Regions from separate parts of the Homo sapiens genome. Here regions 2 and 3 are each linked to region 1. The links are contacts of gene promoters, found by promoter capture Hi-C in human tissues and cell types (Jung and others, 2019). All regions are on one chromosome and are shown on one strand. Each heading gives the region's core, a stretch centred on a gene start or on the middle of the fragment in contact. The rest is flanking DNA. Distances are from core to core; before and after follow the strand shown.

Region 1 (3,765 bases), core at 830-3,329:
AAGGAGGGGGTGGGGTACACCACAGGGTCAGCAGGGGAGCTCACCCAGGTCAGTAGGGGTGGACCTCACAGGGCCTGTAGGCTATGGTGAGGCCTCTGTTTTTCACTCTGTGATGGAAGCCACTGAGTGGCTCCGAGCAAAAAAGGAATTGAATCTGGCATGGGCTCGGCTGCTGGGACGAGAACAGACCACAGAGGGACAAAAGAGGCAGGAGAGTTAGAGGTCGCTGCAGTAACCCAGGCTGGAGATGAGGATGGCCTGGACCCAAGCAGTGATGGCAGAAGTGGTGAGAACTCAGATCCTGGCTGGATATTGAGGATGTGATGTTGGATGTGAGACTGGGAGGACCACAGAGATGCTAAGGTTTTTGCCCTGAACAACGGGAAGGTTGTTGGTTCCCCTGACACGGAGAAGCCTCAGGTGGAGCAGGTTAAGTGTGAGTTGCCAACCAGGCTTCCAGGTGGATATGGTGAGTAGGGAGCTATATATCAGGTTTAAGAGACAGTTAATGACTGGAGAGCTGCATCTGGGAGTAATCCGGGCAGGGAGAGTTTTTAGAGATAACACTGGGGGTGGGTGCAGAGAAAAGAGGTTTGGAGATTGAACTCTCGACAGGATATGGTTAGAGGAGCCCACGCTCTTAACTGCCGCACCATGCTGCATCTCTGAAGTCAGTTTCCACATCGGTAAAACGGAATCAACAACAGTACCTATCTCACATTGTAGGAAATAAACGTGTGAAGCATGTAGCACAATGTTCGAATAGTGAGCACTCAATCAGTGCTGGCGATTGGTTATTTAACACCACCTGTTTCTGATCTTGGGGTGCCATTGTTCACATCTCTCCTTCTGATGTCTGTTCCATCCAGGATCCCCCTTGCCAGCCCCTTCTTCCAACGCCACCAACCCCCCAGCACATGGGGGCATGAACCCACACCACACATCCTGTCTCTTCTTAGAGAAGATATCTTTTCATACAGCGGATCACTCCAGCCATGCAGCTCCCCTCTGCTCTCAGGGCACTTATACTGCACTGGGCTAGGATGCTTAGCTGCCCGATTCGGCACGGTGCTGGCCAGGGGGCATGTGCTCATTTGCTCAATGTGCATGTCCTGCCTGACTGCTCTGCTGGGCACAGGGGCTGCCCCTGGGAGGTTCCCTACTCTGCAAACAAGTGGCAGCTGGGAAAAGCACTCCGGGAGGAGGCAACTACAGGAGAAGCAGGGAAGCCTGGAGTTGTAGGTTGGGGGAGAAGCGGGCAGAGGGGCTGGATCTGGGGGCCTGGCAAAAAGGAGAAAAGTGGGAGGTTCTTTACTTCCCAACCCTCATCTGTCCCAACAAGCCCCTAGTGCAGCAGGAAGGCTGCTAAAGAGTCCCTGTCTGGGAGACCTGACCTCTGGGCCCGTTCTCCGGCTTTGCACGTCCCAGGGTCTTGGTTTTCCACTCTAAACAGCGGCAGTTGGTCTAAGTGTTTTCAGAAGGCCCTTCCATCTACAAAGGATCATGAGCCTTGAAACCCAGATACCCGAGGACCACTCCCGGCCCTGGGTTTCCTCCAGCGTGGGGTCTGCCCAAGCACTGAGATCAACCCCCAACCCCAACCCGCTTGTGATGACTGACGGCCTCCCCCACCAATGCTGCTACAAGGCCGAGCCAGGGGGCGGGGCAGACAGGCCCGAATTCACCCCCTACTTAAATTCAGCCCAATCAGCGTCGAGTTCTGCATGTGAGCGGTAGGGGCAGTGGACGCTGCCCTCTGGGCATGCGCAACCTCTCGCCTAAGGCCTCCTCCCGCCTCGCATGCGCACCACGCCGCAGAGGGGGAGAAGGGTAGGGTAGACACGAACCTTGGTCCCATCTTGAAAGTCCGGGAGCTCTCCTCGGCCTTCCTGTATCACACGTTTTTGGATCCCGTCCTCCCGGAGTCTTGCGATGATATCCGCCATCCTCCTTCCCCGCTGCTCCCTTTCGGCAACTTCCGGACTCGCTCGGTAGCTTCCGGACTTGCTTCGGCAACTCCTAGCACCTCGGCAGCTTCCGAGCTAGCGCCATTTTGGTTGAGGGCAGAAGCCAAAAGGGACTGAGCGTGGAAACGGATGGTGATTGGTTCTCTGCGCTGGGGCTGAGCGCGCGCGTCTGCTCGGGGGCGGAGCCTAGGAATGTCTCGGGGCTGGACCCCAGCCTGTCAAGGAGGAAGGGCCGGGGTCCGCGGGCCGGGCGGGACGAGGACGTCCCTAACAATTGTCATTGAATTGATTGGGACTGCGGCCGTGTGGCACTTTGTTTGAAGTTGTGGATGGAATATAACAGCACTGCAGAGTTAGGAAAATGAAAAAAAAAAAAAACACCCGTAAGCCACACCCTCAAAGTGTTATGATTTTTGTGTATTTTCTTCCGGCTTTTTCTCTTTCGCATATCTAGTATGATTGTCGGGACTCTTGCATCCTGGATCTTCCTCTTTCAAAAAATAAAAAGAGGAAGAGGGAAAGAAAGGTGGAGAAGGAGACCAAGAGAGCCCATTGCGGGGTCGGAAATGAGTCATAGTTGTGCCCAATTAATATTAGGGAATAATCGATGAATGATAGAAATGAGGTACTTTAGCGCCGGGCGCGGTGGCCCTGTAACCCCACCACTTTGGGAGGCCGAGGCGAGAGGATCGCTTGAGCCCAGGAGTTCGAGGCTGCAGTGGGCCGTGTTCGTGCCACTGCACTCCAGGCTAGCCGACAGAGCGAGATGCTGTCTCAAAACAAAACAAAAAAAAAAAATTAAATTAAAAGAAAAGAGAAATGAGGTACTTTGGGGCTAAAACAACTTTTGTTTTTCTTTTTTTGAGACGGAGTCTCGCTCTGTCACCCACGCTGGAGTGCAGTGGCACAATTTCAGCTCACTGCAAGCTCTGCCTCCCGGGTTCACGCCATTCTCCTGCCTCAGCCTCCCGAGCAGCTGGGACTACAGGCGCCCGCCACCATGCCCGGCTAATTTTTTGTATTTTTAGTAGAGACAGGGTTTCACCGTGTTAGCCAGGATGGTCTCAATCTCCGGACCTCGTGATCCGCCCACCTCGGCCTCCCAAAGTGCTGGGATTACAGGCGTGAGCCACAGCGCCCAGCTGATATGAAACATTCTAAATAAAATACTAGGCTAATTGAATTCACTAATGTCATGTAAAAATGCATCAGTATGGGGCAGGTGTGGTGGCTTATGCCTCTAATACCAGCACTTTGGGAGGCCAAGGCAAGTGGATCTCCTGGATCTCCTTGAGCTCACAAGTTCAAGACCAGCCTGGACAACATGGCAAAATACCATCTTCACCAAAAATACAAAAAATTAGGTGGTGTGGTGGTGCACGCCTGTGGTCCCAGCTACTCAGCAGGCTGAGGCTGGAGGATTGCTTGAGCCCAGGAGATGGAGGTTGTAGTGAGCCAAGATCGCACCACTGCACTCCAGCCTGGGTGATAGAGTGAGACCCCATCTCAAAAAAAAAAAAAAAGCATCAATATGCTAAGTGAAATAACAGTACCAGTCACATACAGGAAAATACTGTATTATTCTACTTATGTAAGGTACCTAGAGTAGTCAGATTCACAAAGACAGAAAGCAGGGCCGGGCGCGGTGGCTCACACCTGTAATCCCAGCACTTTTGGAGGCCAAGGCAGGCAGATCACCTGAGGTCAGGAGTTTGAGACCAGCCTGGCCAACATGGAGAAACCCCATCTCTACGAAAAATACAAAAATTAGCTGGGTATGGTGGCACGTGCCTGTAAT
Region 2 (3,765 bases), core at 800-3,299, 840 kb after region 1:
AAATACTCCATAATTTGAATAAGGCTTTTTTTATTTTTTATTATTTTTGTTCAGTCCTGCTTAATTAAGCTAAAAAAGGACACCACTCTTTTTGACACTGGGAACCCAAAGGAGGTGAAAGAAGAGTTCAGATAGCAACTCACCATGATCACCACCCCTGAACTGCCACTGTTGCTTCAGACCTCAGATTTTGGAATATTTGCGTTCTACGTACCATTTTAGCATCCCAAATCTGAAAATTCAAAATCCAAAATGCTCTAACAAGCATTTCCTTTGAGCAACATGTAGGCATTCAAAATGCTGGGGATTTGAGATGCTTCCAAATGAAGTGACAATCCACATATCACCCATGCTGCCCTCCAGGCACAAAAGATTCATTTGGTTAAGACTCCAAGATAACACAAATCTAAGTGCTCTATTCACCAAAATCTTATAAAGTCCAGCCCCCCAAACCAATGAAAAGACAGTCATTACCGCCCCTAAAACCCCAGTGCCTCCTCCCCAGGAAGTCCTAAAATCAGCCTTGTAATTCTAGAGTGGCCTTAAACTCAAAATACAATCCCTTGGTACAGGTATAATATAAAAGCAACAAGAGCTGTAACCCTTTAAAGAGTTTGTGTAAGGTAGGACAGCTTAACAAGGATTCTGGTCCTATAAGTGTCGCTTGACATGTTTTTGAGAGGTTCTTCACGTAAAATGCAGAATTCTGATCCTGTGCTGAGGGCAATAAATTCAGAGTGAGGAACTCTGAACTGTGCTCTACTACAAAAAAATAAAAAATAAAAAAGGCCCAGTAACTCAGAAAGCCTTCAAAGAAAAGGGTTTCTGCACTGATAAGCACAAAAGCCGTAGGGGCTCCAAATAAAAGGTGAGTGGCTTTTCTCCAGGAGACATTTGCCTAAGGTAAAGCCCCTAAGTCCCATGCATTCTACATCATAAGAAGTCCATCACCCACACTTATTTCTTCATCACCAGCCAGCCAACAGCTGTTATCTTTACCAAACCTCTCCTTTTACTTATCCAACCATTTTCTGCACACAGCCTTGTGTTCAGCCCTCTACCCAAAGAGGGTGGTTCACCTTGAAACTCTGTGTTATCAAGGCCCCTGATGGCCTCCACTGCATCCTCTGCCCGCTCCATGTGTACGAAGGCATAATCTTTCACGATGTCACATTCGATGACCGGACCATACTCCTCAAACTTGGCTCGAAGCTCCTTATTGGTGCAGGTGGGACTGATGTTGCCCACATGCAACTTTGTTGAGGTTTTGCTCTTATTCTTGCTGGCTTCCACGTTGATGTTCACCCCATGAAGCTTGTAATGGTGCAGGTTGCGTATGGCATCCTCAGCTGCCGTCTTGTCTTCTATGTGCACAAAGCCGTAATTCTTAATGATGTCACATTCCAGCACCTTCCCATACTGCTCGAAGAGTGAGCGAATCTCCTGCTCTGTAGCCTCCCGGGGCAGGTTTCCGATGAACAGCTTCACCATCCTGACAAGAGCCTGGGAGAGAAAAACAAGACATCTGACAAAAGACCTCAGGCCCACATCCGTTCACAAAAGACAACGACTTTCACTCTAATGTATATTTCCAGTTTTCTCTCTCACACGCCTGCACACACACCTCCACACAATAATCAAATGGAAGTGGGAGTGAACTAAGGCCTGCTATAGTAGCCGCCATGAACCTGTAAGAATAAGAAGACGTCTGCAATAGGGAGGTCCTTAGTAGACAAAGGGTTTGGTAAGAACCGATACCTTCCAACAGAAATGGGCATGAAAGACAGCATATGAAGAAATGGGGGTACTAGGCTTTTCTATCCACTAGGAGGACAACAGAAAACAAAAGTCTACTAGGCTTGCTGACTGCCTGCCTGAAATTATCAACAGGCTTTTCCTCACGTAGGAACCAAAGCAGCCATCATTTCCGGGAAAATGGGCCTTGTAATAGCTACATTTGAGTTTCCTTTGGAAGTAATGAACGCGCGACTCGGATCAGACAGCGAGGAGTGGGAGATAAAGGAAATACTGGAGTGGTGAACGCCTCTCTCGGGGCACCGTCCTAGCTCCTGCCGAACACTGAAATGCGCGGCCGCGGAAAAGAGCTTCAGATTCATTAACCAGACGATGTCTCACGGCCCGAGAAATTCCCGAAACGAGAATGTAACTGTCAGATATAAGGGAAAGGGGGTTATCCCAGTGGAAATCTCGAGGCTCCAAGAGCAGCCATGTCGGGCGCGGGACAGGGTGGGCGAAAAAAAGCAAGGTATTCTCAGGGGGCGGTGGGGGAAGGGCTGCTCCCGGCTTACCGCGCAATGCCGAGGACCGAGGTCGGCTCTCAGTGACGGGTGTGGAGACTGCGGACCTACCAGGACACCCCCGAAGCCCAAGGGAGTGAGAGAAGATTTAACACAGTACAAGAAAGGCAGTGGAAAGGCTCGGAGTCTCACCCGCACAGAAACCAGCAGGGCCTCCTCCTCGCGGCGCGGACGCTTCTGACAAAACGCTAAAATGGCGGCGGCCGCAGCAGTGCTCTGAGTAGAAGGGGGAGGTGAGCCTACAACCGGATTGGCCACTCAAGAAAGTAAAAGGCCGGCGTTCCCTCAGATCCTCTTCCTGATTGGTTACCACGGACGCCAATTACCTAAGAGGCCGGCAAGAGGTGGAAACGTCTGTAACCTCGGAGCTTTTATGCGAAAGCCAATGGGCACCAACCTCGCGAAGCCGAACTCGCTGATTGGGCAAGAGATCAGCGTGAGGGCGGACCTACAAACGTGGGCTTCGCCGGCGGGGTGCGGCCCGCCATTAGGCGGAGCGAGCTAGAGCCCCGGGGTAGCAGTCTTTAGCTTCATGGCGCCAACTTCGTTAAGCTTCCACATTTCGCCACCTCCACGTGCACAGCCAGACAGTATTCCGCGCTCCATTTTGCCGTTCACTCTAGGTGTCTCCCTCTAACCTCCCAAGCACCACCCCCCCTCGCGGCCAGGACGCTGTGGAAATAGCTTATGCAGGCACATGCCAGGGAAGAAAAACAACGAAGACCCCCCCCAACCCACCACCCACCACTTCAGGAAACCAACCTTCTCCTTGGGCCAGCAGTCCACACTGTAGCCTTGAGAGTCCCGGAGCTCCCCCAAAATCAAACCTCTCACAGGTGGTGAAAGGACCTCTGTAATGGCCTTCCAGAAGTAGGCCCGGCAGGAGGCTGCACTGTCCAGGAGACGCTGAGGACAAGTTCCCTCTGGGAACCAGCCTCCCAGGGTCCGCGATGAAGAAACCTTTCTGAGACCATGGAGATTTAAAGTATACCCCGACCCCACCCTGAGAAAAAACTGGAGCAGCAAAGGTTTTTTTGTTTTATTTTATTGGGCGCCATCAGCCAGAGCTGTTTTAATCCCCTAGAACCGACTTTAGAGGACAGAGCTTAGTCACAACCAGCTGTAAACAAAATACAAAGTAACATTCTCCAGAGGGTCCAGCTGCTGCCTCGTTTTCTCTCATCCTTAGGCTGCTTCATATTCATTAAGCAAGCAACTTTAGTCAAGACCCTTTGCGAAGCAGCTTTTGAAAAGGGTTAAAAGGTGGAGTGCAGGGACTGGATGGAAGAACTTATAACACGAACAAAACAGGCTAAAAGCAGTGCAGAGTTTATGAGGAAAGGGATCATCAGGAGTGAAGATGACACAAGTACCACACACCACCATCCAAAGCAGCTTCTTCACCACCACCCCCGCCCCAAAAAGAGAACGGTTTCATAAAGAGAAA
Region 3 (3,765 bases), core at 1-2,500, 780 kb after region 1:
CAGCGCCTCGTGTCCCAGGTAGGACTTGAGGCTCCTAGGATGCTTAGGCTGGTCAGAACTGGGAGAGAGACAGGGTGGATAAGAAGCCCCGCGGGGTGGAGAGACAATGAAACACAAAATCCGTCACCTGGGTAAAAAGGCCTAGAGGTCCGGGAGCCAGGGGCCAGAGGGTGGGACAGGAGAGAGGGTTGGTGAGACAGGATGGGGGTGGGATAGAGAGGGAACTTAGAGCCACCGCATGGAGCTGGGATCTTGCAGGCCAAGTGCCCTGCAGGACAGAGGAGCAGGCAGAGGCACTGTCCCTTGGTCCCCACACCTCCTCTCCCTGCCCCCGACACAGGACAACTTTGGGCTGGAGCTGGCAGCTGTCGAGGCAGCAGTACGGAAGCACGAAGCCATTGAGACGGACATCGTGGCCTACAGCGGCCGGGTGCAGGCAGTGGACGCCGTGGCTGCAGAGCTGGCCGCCGAGCGCTACCACGACATCAAGCGCATCGCCGCTCGGCAGCACAACGTGGCACGGCTCTGGGACTTCTTGCGGCAGATGGTGGCCGCCCGGCGGGAGCGGCTCCTCCTCAACCTGGAGCTGCAGAAGGTGTTCCAGGACCTGCTCTACCTCATGGACTGGATGGAAGAGATGAAGGTACCAGTGAGGCGTGCTGGGTGGGGTAAGAGTGATCAAGAGTCGAGGGGGCCCCACAGTGGGTGCGTCCGCCCGTCTGCTCGGCCGATCTCTGTGGAGTGTGAACCAGCACAGGGCCCTGTCCCCAGTTGCAGGGAACAAAGTAAACAGGGCCCTGTCCACATGGGGTTCGTGTCCACATGGAGGAGGCTGATGACAAAACCCACGGACCTTTCCGTAAACAAAAGAGCAGGGGCCATAAAACCACTGATGAAACTGGAACAGGGTGGTGTGAGGGGCTGGTCAGACAAGGCCTCTGAGAAAATACCATTTAAGCCGAGACCAGAATAGTGCCAGGAGCCAGCACAGAGAGCTCTCAGGAGAGAATGTTCCGGGCAGAAGGAACAGCCGGCACAGGCCCTCGGCCTGGATCAGCATGGTGTGTTCAGGATCAGAAGGAAGGCCGGTGGGCTGTGAGCATGAGGAGTGGGGGCCATGGACTGAGATTTGGGAGGGCACGGCCAGCCCACTAGGGCCTTACAGGCCTGGTCAGGGAGTTTGGATTTTATTCAAAGTAACATGGATCCTTTAAAGTGATTTGAAGGGGCCAGGCGCAGTGGCTCATGCCTGTAATCCCAGCTCTTTGGGAGGCCAAGGCAGGCAGATCACTTGAGGTCAGGAGTTCAAGACCAGCCTGGCCAACATGGTGAAACCCCGTGTCTATAAAAATACAGAAATTAACCAGGTGCGGTGGTAGCGCATGCCTGTAGTCCCAGCTACTCAGGAGGCTGAGACAGCAGAATCGCTTGAACCCAGGAGGCGGAGGTTGCAGTGAGCCAAGATTGCACCACTGCACTCCAGCCTAGGTGATAGAGCAAGACTCAGTCAAAAAAAAAAAAAAAAAGCAGCTAGGCAAGGTGGCTCACGCCTATAATCCTAAGACTTTGGGAGGCCGAGGCGGGCGGATCACCTGAGGTCAGGAGTCCAAGACCAGCCTGGCCAACATGGTGAAACCCCATCTCTGCTAAAAATACAAAAATTAGCTGAGTGTGGTGGCACACGCCTGTAATCCCAGCTAGTCAGGAGGCTGAGGAAGGAGAATTGCTTGGACCTGGGAGGTGGAGGTTGCAGTGAACTGAGATTGTGCTACTGCACTCCAGCCTGCACTACAGGAGCGAGACTCCATCTCAAAATAAATAAATAAATAAAGTGATTAGAAGGTTTTGAGAGGGGGAGAGATTTGATTGTACCTTATGTTTGTAAAAAAGTCACTTTGGCTACTCTGAAGAAGGCCTGTGGGCAGGCAGCATGACAGCGAGACCGTTAGAGGTTGCTGCCATCTTCCAGGCGGGCAGCGGCTAGGAGGGTGGATTGGGGAGAGATGTGGAAGGAAGGCTGCTGGGTGCTGGGGCGGAGCGGTGGCGGCAGGAGGGTGTCGATGATTCTGAGGCTGAGAAGATTAGTCACAGCAAAGCTTCCAAGAGCAGGAGTTAGTTAGAACATTGTTCCACAGCAGGGGAGTTCAGGATAAGGAGGTCGGGGTGCCAGGGCAGAACTGGGGTATCTCAAGTATGTGTGAGCAAGCAGGTTTCTCACCTGGGTGCAACACCTGGGGCCGTGGAGAAGTTGGAAGAAAAACGCAGCCAGGTTAGCGCGTCTGTGCTCAGGCGGGCATGTGCACTTCATGTGTGCCTGGCAGGGCCGGCTGCAGTCTCAGGACCTGGGCAGGCACCTAGCAGGAGTGGAGGACCTGCTGCAGCTGCACGAGCTGGTGGAGGCAGACATCGCCGTGCAGGCCGAGAGGGTGCGGGCCGTCAGCGCCTCTGCCCTGCGCTTCTGCAACCCAGGGAAAGGTGAGAAGTCAGCGAAGGCACTGGAGAGGGAGGGGCTGGGAAGGAGCACATCAAGAGCCGAGGTGGAAGGGTTGGGAAACCTGGGGACGGGAAAGATGGTGGCCAAACGATGGTGACTGAGCTAAAGCCAGGGAGGGAAGTCCAAGAGAGTGTGGTGGCAGGGAGCAGCCGGAGGGCTGGGTTAAGGCTCTGACCCTCTCCTGTGACTTTCTCAGAGTATAGACCTTGCGACCCGCAGCTGGTGTCGGAGCGGGTGGCCAAGCTAGAGCAGAGCTATGAGGCACTGTGCGAGTTGGCAGCGGCGCGGCGGGCCCGGCTGGAGGAATCACGGCGGCTCTGGCGTTTCCTCTGGGAGGTGGGTGAAGCTGAGGCCTGGGTGCGGGAGCAGCAGCACCTCCTGGCCTCAGCCGACACGGGCCGAGACCTGACCGGTGCCCTCCGCCTGCTCAACAAGCACACAGCCCTGCGGGGCGAGATGAGCGGCCGGCTGGGGCCCCTGAAGCTCACCCTGGAGCAGGGCCAGCAGTTGGTGGCCGAGGGTCACCCTGGGGCAAGCCAGGCCTCTGCCCGTGCAGCTGAACTCCAAGCCCAGTGGGAGCGGCTAGAGGCCCTGGCCGAGGAGCGTGCCCAGCGGCTGGCCCAAGCCGCCAGCCTCTACCAGTTCCAGGCCGATGCAAACGACATGGAGGCCTGGTTGGTTGACGCACTGCGCCTGGTGTCCAGCCCCGAGCTGGGGCACGACGAGTTCTCCACGCAGGCTCTAGCCAGGCAGCATCGGGCCCTGGAGGAGGAGATTCGAAGCCACCGGCCAACCCTGGACGCCTTGAGGGAACAGGCAGCAGCCCTGCCCCCCACACTGAGCCGCACGCCCGAGGTGCAGAGCCGGGTGCCCACCCTGGAGCGGCACTACGAGGAGCTGCAGGCCCGGGCAGGCGAGCGAGCGCGGGCCTTGGAGGCAGCCCTGGCGCTCTACACCATGCTCAGCGAGGCCGGGGCCTGTGGACTCTGGGTGGAGGAGAAGGAGCAGTGGCTCAACGGGCTGGCCCTGCCTGAACGCCTGGAGGACCTGGAGGTCGTGCAGCAGAGGTAGGCCCCTCAGGCTCCTAGTGGGACCAGCCTTGGGAGGTGGGGGTGGGGGGGCCAGGATGTGGGTGGTGAGTCCCTCCATAAACTTCCTGCCTCACCCCTTTGAGTCTTAATGGTTGTCCATTTCTAGTTTTAACAAAAAATGTTAACCATACTCACAAGTAGAGACATTTCACCACAAACCCCTCTACACCCGTCACCCAG

The links. Contacts are between HindIII fragments. The study calls those that stand out against the background at their distance.
Region 2: a contact is called between a fragment that was not itself captured here and the fragment with the promoter of AIP in region 1, in 1 of the 25 tissues and cell types used here (spleen).
Region 3: a contact is called between a fragment that was not itself captured here and the fragment with the promoter of AIP in region 1, in 1 of the 25 tissues and cell types used here (dorsolateral prefrontal cortex).

What each region holds. Positions count from the first base shown.
Region 1 is chr11:67,481,340-67,485,104 of GRCh38, reverse strand. AIP (AHR interacting HSP90 co-chaperone) reads right to left here and starts at 2,079. Exons shown (of 6, transcript NM_003977.4): 1 at 1,848-2,079. The coding sequence starts at 1,946. RefSeq lists enhancers at 1-30, 2,178-2,237. The HindIII fragment of the contact is 17,225 bases long and covers 1-2,577 here.
Region 2 is chr11:66,637,438-66,641,202 of GRCh38, reverse strand. The region is part of intron 1 of RBM14-RBM4 (RBM14-RBM4 readthrough); the gene reads right to left. It overlaps RBM4 (RNA binding motif protein 4), which reads right to left and starts at 2,500. Exons shown (of 4, transcript NM_002896.4): 1 at 2,451-2,500; 2 at 1,080-1,503. The coding sequence starts at 1,491. RefSeq lists enhancers at 1,624-2,335, 2,202-2,571, 2,336-3,049. The HindIII fragment of the contact is 5,623 bases long and covers 1-3,765 here.
Region 3 is chr11:66,704,394-66,708,158 of GRCh38, reverse strand. It overlaps SPTBN2 (spectrin beta, non-erythrocytic 2), which reads left to right. Exons shown (of 38, transcript NM_006946.4): 12 at 1-18; 13 at 341-643; 14 at 2,322-2,475; 15 at 2,691-3,561. Among named protein-coding and RNA genes, the nearest start is that of SPTBN2, 23 kb to the left of the region's middle. The HindIII fragment of the contact is 6,421 bases long and covers 1-3,765 here.